Regions from separate parts of the Homo sapiens genome. Here all the other regions are linked to region 3. The links are contacts of gene promoters, found by promoter capture Hi-C in blood cells and fetal thymus (Javierre and others, 2016). All regions are on one chromosome and are shown on one strand. The core of a region is centred on a gene start or on the middle of the fragment in contact, and the rest is flanking DNA. Distances in the headings are between cores, read along the strand shown. Region 1 overlaps CR1 (complement C3b/C4b receptor 1 (Knops blood group)). Region 2 overlaps CR1 (complement C3b/C4b receptor 1 (Knops blood group)). Region 3 holds the start of IL20 (interleukin 20).

What was found. Contacts are between HindIII fragments. The CHiCAGO score rates a contact against its expected background, and 5 or more counts as called.
Region 1: a contact is called between a fragment that was not itself captured here and the fragment with the promoter of IL20 in region 3, in 1 of 17 cell types (endothelial precursors). The highest score is 5.6, in endothelial precursors.
Region 2: a fragment that was not itself captured here is called in contact with the fragment with the promoter of IL20 in region 3 in 7 of 17 cell types (endothelial precursors, fetal thymus, naive CD8 T cells and 4 more); the score reaches 10.0 in endothelial precursors.

What each region holds. Positions count from the first base shown.
Region 1 is chr1:207,518,137-207,520,838 of GRCh38, forward strand. The region is part of intron 4 of CR1 (complement C3b/C4b receptor 1 (Knops blood group)); the gene reads left to right. Among named protein-coding and RNA genes, the nearest start is that of CR1, 23 kb to the left of the region's middle. The HindIII fragment of the contact is 432 bases long and covers 1,072-1,503 here.
Region 2 is chr1:207,498,391-207,501,225 of GRCh38, forward strand. All of the region lies in intron 1 of CR1 (complement C3b/C4b receptor 1 (Knops blood group)), which reads left to right. Among named protein-coding and RNA genes, the nearest start is that of CR1, 3.7 kb to the left of the region's middle. RefSeq lists an enhancer at 1,170-1,229. The HindIII fragment of the contact is 209 bases long and covers 1,259-1,467 here.
Region 3 is chr1:206,864,222-206,867,014 of GRCh38, forward strand. IL20 (interleukin 20) reads left to right here and starts at 1,402. Exons shown (of 6, transcript NM_018724.4): 1 at 1,402-1,465; 2 at 1,602-1,790; 3 at 2,078-2,143; 4 at 2,263-2,415. The coding sequence starts at 1,632. The HindIII fragment of the contact is 6,531 bases long and covers 561-2,793 here.

The sequences.
Region 1 (2,702 bases), core at 38-2,537, 650 kb after region 3:
TTTATATTTTTATTATCATTGTACATAAAAGCTTTCTAATTTCACTTTTAATATCTCCTCTGACCCATAGGCTGTTTAGAAGGGCATTGCTTAATTTCTAAATATTTAGAGATCTTCTAGTTATCATTCTTTCATTAATTTAATCATTTGAGACATGGTTTATTGCCCAGAATATGGACGATTTTGGTAAAATGTTACATATGCACTTGAATGTACAGTTATTTTGCTTCATTTTCTAGAAATGTCATTTAGGAAAATGTGGTTTAGAACAGTCTTTTTTTCCCCCTCCACTTGTTCTCTCAGTTATGGAGAAGCATGTGTAAAATATCTGTATTAGTTTCCCAGGGCTGCTGTAACAAATTACCACAAACTTAGTGGCTTCAAAGAAGAGAAATTTACTCTCTTAACAGTTTGGAGGCCAGAAATCCAGTTAAGATGTCAATAGGATTGGTTCCATCTGCAAGCTGTTCTGTGCCTCTCTCCAGGCTTCCTTCCAGTGGCTGCTGGCAATCGTTGATGTTCCTTGGCTTGTAGATGCATCATTTCCTTCTCTGTCTCCATCTTCTCATCGCCTTCTCCTCTGTGTGTGTCCTTTGCTCTTCTGTCTCCTATAAAGACACTGGACATGGATTTAGAGGCCACCCTGGCAATCCAGAATGGTCACAGCTCGAGATCATTAACGTGATTGTATCTACAAAGACTCTCCAAACTGGGTCATATTCACAGGTTTCAGAGATCAGGACACAGATATTTTTTAAGGAGGACAGTGGTTATTCAACCCATTACAATCCCCAACTACAACTATGAATTTGTCTGTCTTTCCTCTTTGTTCTAGCAATTTTTACTTTATGTATTTTAAACATGTTATTAAATGCATGAAATTTTTGGTTTATTCTTTCTGCTGAATTGACTATTTTATCATAATGAAATGTCTCTCTTTACCTCTCATAATACTTCTTACCTTAAAATCTACTTTGCATATTAATACAGCTATATAAGCTTTCTTTATTGTTTTTATATTATATGTGTTTTAAATCTTTTACTTTCAGCCCTTCTTTGTCTTATATTTAAAGCTTGTCTCTTATAAACATCATATAGTAAGGTTTTGTTGTTTTATTCAGTCTTAGTTGTTCATTGGTGTGTTTGGAACATTAAAATTTAATAATAAAAATTAAAAATAAATAAATTTAATATAGTTACTGATATAAAGTCTAAGTCTTGGTATTTGTTTCATGTGTTTGTTCCTTTATTCCTCATTTCTCACATTTTTTAATTCATCAAGTATTTTTATTATTCTATTTCCCCAGTAGCTTTTAAGTTATATTCCATTTTTTATTCTTAAATGACTACTCTAGAGATAGACATCCTTGATTTACTATAGTCTGCTAAAATTGTACTTTTACCACTCTCCAAACAACGCAAGTACCGAAACTATTAATAGTTAATTCCATTTATGTCCTCCCCCTCTTTTTGTATTGTTGCCATACGTTTTGCAAAAAGAAAAGCTTCAGCTGAATTAAATTTAAAAGAGTTTAATTGAGCAATGAACGATTCGCAAATCAGGCAGCCTCCCGAGCCAAAGTAAGCGCAGAGACTCCAGCCCAGCTGCAATGGGGGAAGAGGATTTACCGACAGAAAAAGGAAACTGACGTACAGAAAACAGAAGTGAGGTACAGAAACAGCCGATTGGTTATAGCTCAGCGTTTGCCTTATTTGAAAACAGTTCAAACAGTTGGCCACATTTGATTGGCCAAAACTCGGTGATTGGCGTAAGAGTAGTCTGCGGTCTGTTTACATCTTCACTTGTTATAGTTTGCAGTTTACAGAGAAACCTTTAGGCTGAGCTTAAACTACGTAAGGCTTTAGGCTAAACTTGATTTAACGATTTACATATATTCTATATTTCAAAGACACTGTTGTCTTTATAAAAACAGTATTTATTTATATTTACACCTTAGTGAATTCTTAGAATTTTTATGTTGCCTCAGCATCCATTTAGAATATGTTTAGCTTTCTCATGCCAGAAGCAGGGCTTAGTCACCCTTAATGCCCTTTCTAGTTCTGTACCTCCTCCCAATTTTGCAACGTGGTCGAGCCAGATATCTGCCTTATACAACTGCCTCCTGGTGACCACCTCTCTATGGGACAGCTAGATAAAACCTACTTGACTAGCGTCCCTGACCTCTGTGCCCTGCATGGACTTCGCAGATATGCTGCCGTGACCACCTCTCAGTCGCAGCACGACTGCCTGGAACATGTGCCTGCTTTCTTTAAACTCACCAATTAGAACTCCCCATGGGAGATACCTTGGCTTGTAGATGCAAGATGCTGGGTCATACTCTGGTCCCCAATAAAGGCATTGGCTGATGGGTCCCCTTCTCTCTGTCTGTCTCCTCGCGCTGACCAACCTCTGTGTGATCTTCAGGCGTGCCATACCCCCAGCCCGTAATAAAATCTTTACTGCCATCTTGTGTTTCTTGTAATGACTGAAGAGGTTTTCTCTATCATAAAGATCCTAAATGAAAACATACCCGCATATGAGCTCTTTCTGGTGTGTTTCCTTCTTATTGCAATTCTGTCAATTCTATATGAAACTATTTTCCTTCAGCCTGAAAAAGTCTCTTTGGCATTTTTGTATTGTAGAGCTTCTGACAACAAATTCTTTAAACATTTTTCTAAGTGTGGTTCCTCTGAAGGTTATT
Region 2 (2,835 bases), core at 113-2,612, 630 kb after region 3:
GCTAGGATTGTTTTGTTATTATGAGTTACTCACAGTACCCGTAAAGTGGTATAGTGCTATTTGAAAGAGGACTTAGATTAGCTGCAAATAGATATTGCAAATGTAGGACAACCCCTGAAAAATGTGAAAAAAAGAACTATAATTTATATGTTAATAAGTAAGAGAGAATTGCATCATATAAAATGCTCAGTTAAAACAATAAAGATGGCTGGGGACAGTGGCTCATGCCCATAATCCCAGCACTTTGGGAGGCTGAGGTGGGTGGATCACCTCAAGTCAGGAGTTCAAGACCAGCCTGGCCAACATAGTGAAACCCTGTCTCTACAAAAACACAAAAATTACCAGGGCATGATGGTGGGTGCCTGTAGTCCCAGCTACTCGGGAGGCTGAGGCATGAGAATCGCTTGAACCTGGGAGGCGGAGGTTGCAGTGAGTCGAGATCGTGCCATTGCACTCCAGCCTGGGTGACAGAGCGCAACTCCAAATCAAAAAAAAAAAAAAAAGAAACAAACAAACAAAACAAAAAACAATAAAGGGCAGGAAAAGAATGGAAGACAAAAAATAGAAACAGAGAACAAGAGAAAAAAAGCAACAAATAAAAACCAGTAACAAAACTAAAGCAACTATATCAACAATCATTTTGAGTGTCAATGATCGAAATGCACCATTTGAAACAGATCATCAGAGTGGATCAAGAAACAAGACCCAACTATATACTGTGTACAACAAGACCGTTTTAAATATAGACAATATATATGAAAAGTAAATGGATAAAGATATACCATGCTAATGCTAGTCACAGAAAGCAGGAATAGCTGTGTTAATTTCAAACACAGCAGACTTCAGACCAAGAAAAATTATTAGGGATAAAGAGGGGCATCATATAATGATAAAGGGGCCAATTATCCAAGAAGACGTAACAATATCCCATATGTATGCACCTGATGGAGAGACAAAATACGTGAGGCAAAACCCATAGAACTGCAAGGAGAAATAGATGGATTTACTATCATAGTTGGAGACTTCTATGATATCTTTCTGATATCAGAAAAGGTGCTGAAGTCTCCTTATCAGAAATGGGCAGATTCAGCAGGCAGAAAATCCGTAAGGACATACTTGAATTCAACAGCACCATCAATCCACTTGGGTATAATTGACATATATAGATGACTTCATCCACAACAGCAGAGCACATATTCTCCCGCTTACATTCATGGGGATAGACCACATTCTGAGCCATAAAATAGTACACGAATTAAGCTTTACCAGGCAGTGTTTAATATAGGGTGGACTCTGGCGCCCTCACGTGGTCCTCATATAGGATCTGGTTTGGTTATCCCTGCTAGGTAAAGGTGCAAGATAGAAGGGAAGTTCCAATTTGCTTTCTGTGCTTTGTGGTGTATTTTGGTTTACATATGCTCAGATGAGTGGATGTGTGATTTATATTATCTATTTTAATCTAAAATAAGCTTCACATTTGGACAGGTAACATCAAAAGTGTCCTACACAGAAATGCTGGGTGAAGATCCCAGTAATAAAACCAACTCCAGAAAACAAGAAAATGGTAGAGTTGACAATCCCTCTCACCCTCTCCGCAAAGACACATGTATACACATTTTTTGTCAGAGGCATTAAGTAGAAGAAATGCTGTCAGTCTAATCACAACTGATCACAACTCGATGAAACCAAAAAACCTAGAAAGTATCATGAAGACTGTCGAAATAAGCTTTACATTCACTATTGTGAACAGAGAGACTCAATGTGACTGTTTTTTGTCCCGTTAGATGTTAGCTAATGATTGTGCTAAGTCATGATGATTAACAAAGCATTTAAAATATTTATTTTATCTGTGTTACATTTCAAAAATTTATATTGAGGCATATAATTTATGTTCGTGTACATATATAATTTATAAATTTATATATTTGAAAGGGCATGCTCTTTTTTTAAACTGATAGAGGTGCCTAAGCAAAGCAAGTGCAAATCTATTCCTTAAAGGGTAAGTATGCAGAATGGAAAGCAGAGTGTTCTTTGGGTTGACAGCTCATATTGCAACAGACATGAAAGTGATGATGTGTTAATTGTGCATATAGCACAGAATACATCAACTTGCTTTGAATGGAATATCTGAACCAGGAGAATGTGAAAGTGGGCTGAGTCATACAAGACAAAACCCGAAATGAGATAACAATACATACCCACTAGAATGACTAAAATGAAAAAGATTGACCGAGCCAAGTGTTGGCGATAAGGTGGAGTAACTGGAATTATAATATACTGCTATTTGGCAGGTAAAATTATAACATTAACTTTAGAAAATAGTTCAACAGATTCTTAAAACCTTAGACACACACTCAACATTTTACTCTTAGGTTTTTACCCAAGAGAAATGAAATCATATGTCCACACAAAGACTTGTACATGAATTTTCATAGCAGTTTTGTTTGTAATAGCCAACACGTGGAAACAATCCAAATGTCCCTCAACAAGTAAATGGATAAACTAAATTAAGATATATTTATGCAATTGAATATTACCCAGCAACTAAAGGAAACAATTTGTATACATGCAGCAACCTAGATGGATCTCTAATTATGCTGTGTGAAGGCTAAACCATAAAAAAAAACCTGAGTGATTTCCTTTATACAATAGGATATAAATGAAGTGATTTAGGTTATATGAAATTTTAGAAAGTCAAATCAATCTGTAGTAAGAGAAAACCACCTGAGTTATTTCCTTTATATGATAGGATATAAACGAAGTGATTCGGGTTATATGAAATTTTAGAAAGTCAGATCAATCTGTAGTAAGAGAAAACACATTGAAGGTTGCCTA
Region 3 (2,793 bases), core at 152-2,651:
CTTTGATTCTTTTGGGTTTGGTTTGCTTTTTTCCTTTTCCTACATTTGACAGTATCTCGAGTGGTCACAAATGTAAAAAATGTCTAGCATATTGCCTGGCATATAGGAAAAATTCAGTAAGTGATAATGATTATCAGTGCTGTGCCAAGCTATGGAGCCAGCCATATATATATGGATGTGTGCATATATATATATGATGTGTGTGTATATATATATGTCTTTATAAATTTTATGTATTTATTTCTTTCAAAAATATTAAAGTATTTGAGAAAATTGAAAAATTAAAAAGTAGGTTTATTACGACTCATGACTTTAAGTTTAAATATTTTATTTCTGCCCCAAACAAAATTTATTATAATTTTACTGTCCTGGTTTTAAGGGAAGGAAACTCATCAATAATATTTTCATCATATGCTTTTGAGAAACAAAGTTAACCATTAAGAATGAAACATGAAAACATGTGAATAGTGGTACAAATTTTTCCTTTTGCTTCAATATGGCTCAGCATGGCACTGTCGAATTTTGTCTTTATATAAAATTTTGATATTTTGTTTGTCATAAGCTTTTTAATTCATTTTGATATTGCACTAAAATATTTTTATCTTGATGACTGAGGTTTTTTAGTGCTCCCTTAAATTTTGCACCTAAAATGAGTGCCTCAATTGTTTTACCCTAACCTCAGCCCATTATTATTTTATCTTAAAACTCAGCAAACACCCTAACCTGCTCTCTTACTGAGGAGGCTCGCCCAAGAATAAATGAGTTCCGTCATTGCCTTTCTTCTCTGACTTTTGGGACCATTTGCTTGGTCTAGGACCTGAGTTGCAGGTCCAGGAAAGCGTGTACTCTCGAATCCACCCAGGAGTGCCTGACTACAGTCCTCCTGCAGAGGGCGCTGTGGAGTCCCAGACACGAGTGTTAGGTGGAATCGGGCTGATTGCCCATCACGTCTTGCCTTTCCCTGGCAGTAGGCTTGTTATGAAATCATTGACTTTCTATTTGCCTCTGGGGCTTAAGCGAATCTGTTACCCTCAAATAACCTATCTGATCTCAGACAAATGCCAAACAGAGCTCAGTTTCTCTGCCCTGTGGGTGGCCATAAAATCCAGACAATTTCCCCCTAGGTGTTTTCGATGGCGCAGCCACAGCTTCTGTGAGATTCGATTTCTCCCCAGTTCCCCTGTGGGTCTGAGGGGACCAGAAGGGTGAGCTACGTTGGCTTTCTGGAAGGGGAGGCTATATGCGTCAATTCCCCAAAACAAGTTTTGACATTTCCCCTGAAATGTCATTCTCTATCTATTCACTGCAAGTGCCTGCTGTTCCAGGCCTTACCTGCTGGGCACTAACGGCGGAGCCAGGATGGGGACAGAATAAAGGAGCCACGACCTGTGCCACCAACTCGCACTCAGACTCTGAACTCAGACCTGAAATCTTCTCTTCACGGGAGGCTTGGCAGTTTTTCTTAGTAAGTTGCGTGGATGGGCCACACTGTCTGAGGCCAGATAAGGCTGTTCTCTTCCCCTGACCCCCCACCCCTCACCCCGTGGACACTTGGAGGAGGGGAAACTCAGTAAGTCATGCTCTCTTCTTTGAATTCCTAGCTCCTGTGGTCTCCAGATTTCAGGCCTAAGATGAAAGCCTCTAGTCTTGCCTTCAGCCTTCTCTCTGCTGCGTTTTATCTCCTATGGACTCCTTCCACTGGACTGAAGACACTCAATTTGGGAAGCTGTGTGATCGCCACAAACCTTCAGGAAATACGAAATGGATTTTCTGAGATACGGGGCAGTGTGGTACGTAAGCGGGTATCTACCTCTCCTGAAAGCCTTTTCTCTTCCTTCCTTGTCCGTTTCTCTTTCCTGGCAGTACTGGCAGTGTAATCATAAAAAGAGGCAGGCTGGGGATTCCTTACCCGGGGGATGTATTCCAAAGAAATAACTGTAGTTCAAATATTTAAAATGTTTTGGGAAAGGACACCTCCCACTAGTTCTTGGCAGGGAGTGGATGAGAAGTCTTGATATTGAAGACCCTGGCAGCAGGCACTGACTCATCCTTGCTTGTTTTGTCTTCTTCTGTTTAGCAAGCCAAAGATGGAAACATTGACATCAGAATCTTAAGGAGGACTGAGTCTTTGCAAGACACAAAGGTATGTGCTTGGCCCAGACAAACTCTGGGAGGAGGAGTGGAGTGGGAGCATCTCCATCACCCTGGTCTTGTCTCTGCTCTCCCCTTTCCCCTCACCAATATACCTGTGGTTTTTTGCAGCCTGCGAATCGATGCTGCCTCCTGCGCCATTTGCTAAGACTCTATCTGGACAGGGTATTTAAAAACTACCAGACCCCTGACCATTATACTCTCCGGAAGATCAGCAGCCTCGCCAATTCCTTTCTTACCATCAAGAAGGACCTCCGGCTCTGTGTGAGTGTGGGTCTTGGGTGACAGGATGCATCTCAGCACACAGCTTCAATGGCTTAGCAACTAAACTCTCTTTCCTACCTCCATTTAATGGATGGAGAAACTGAGTCCAAAAGTTCTAATAATCTGTGTTGAGACATGTGACTAGGTAATAAGAACTCAGTTTTATTGACTTTTCGGTATATGCTCTAGGCAAAAAGTACTTTGCAAAGTCTAAAGAACTATAAGATGCTAACTATTTGATATTAATGATAACTCTGTTGTCTTTGAAATTATACTTTTTCTGTAGGTGAGGTATCCTACAGTATATTAGTGCGTCCTCTGTCTAGGCAGTCAATTAGTAGACCATTGAGCTTGACCTCAGAATATAGTCTGAATAGG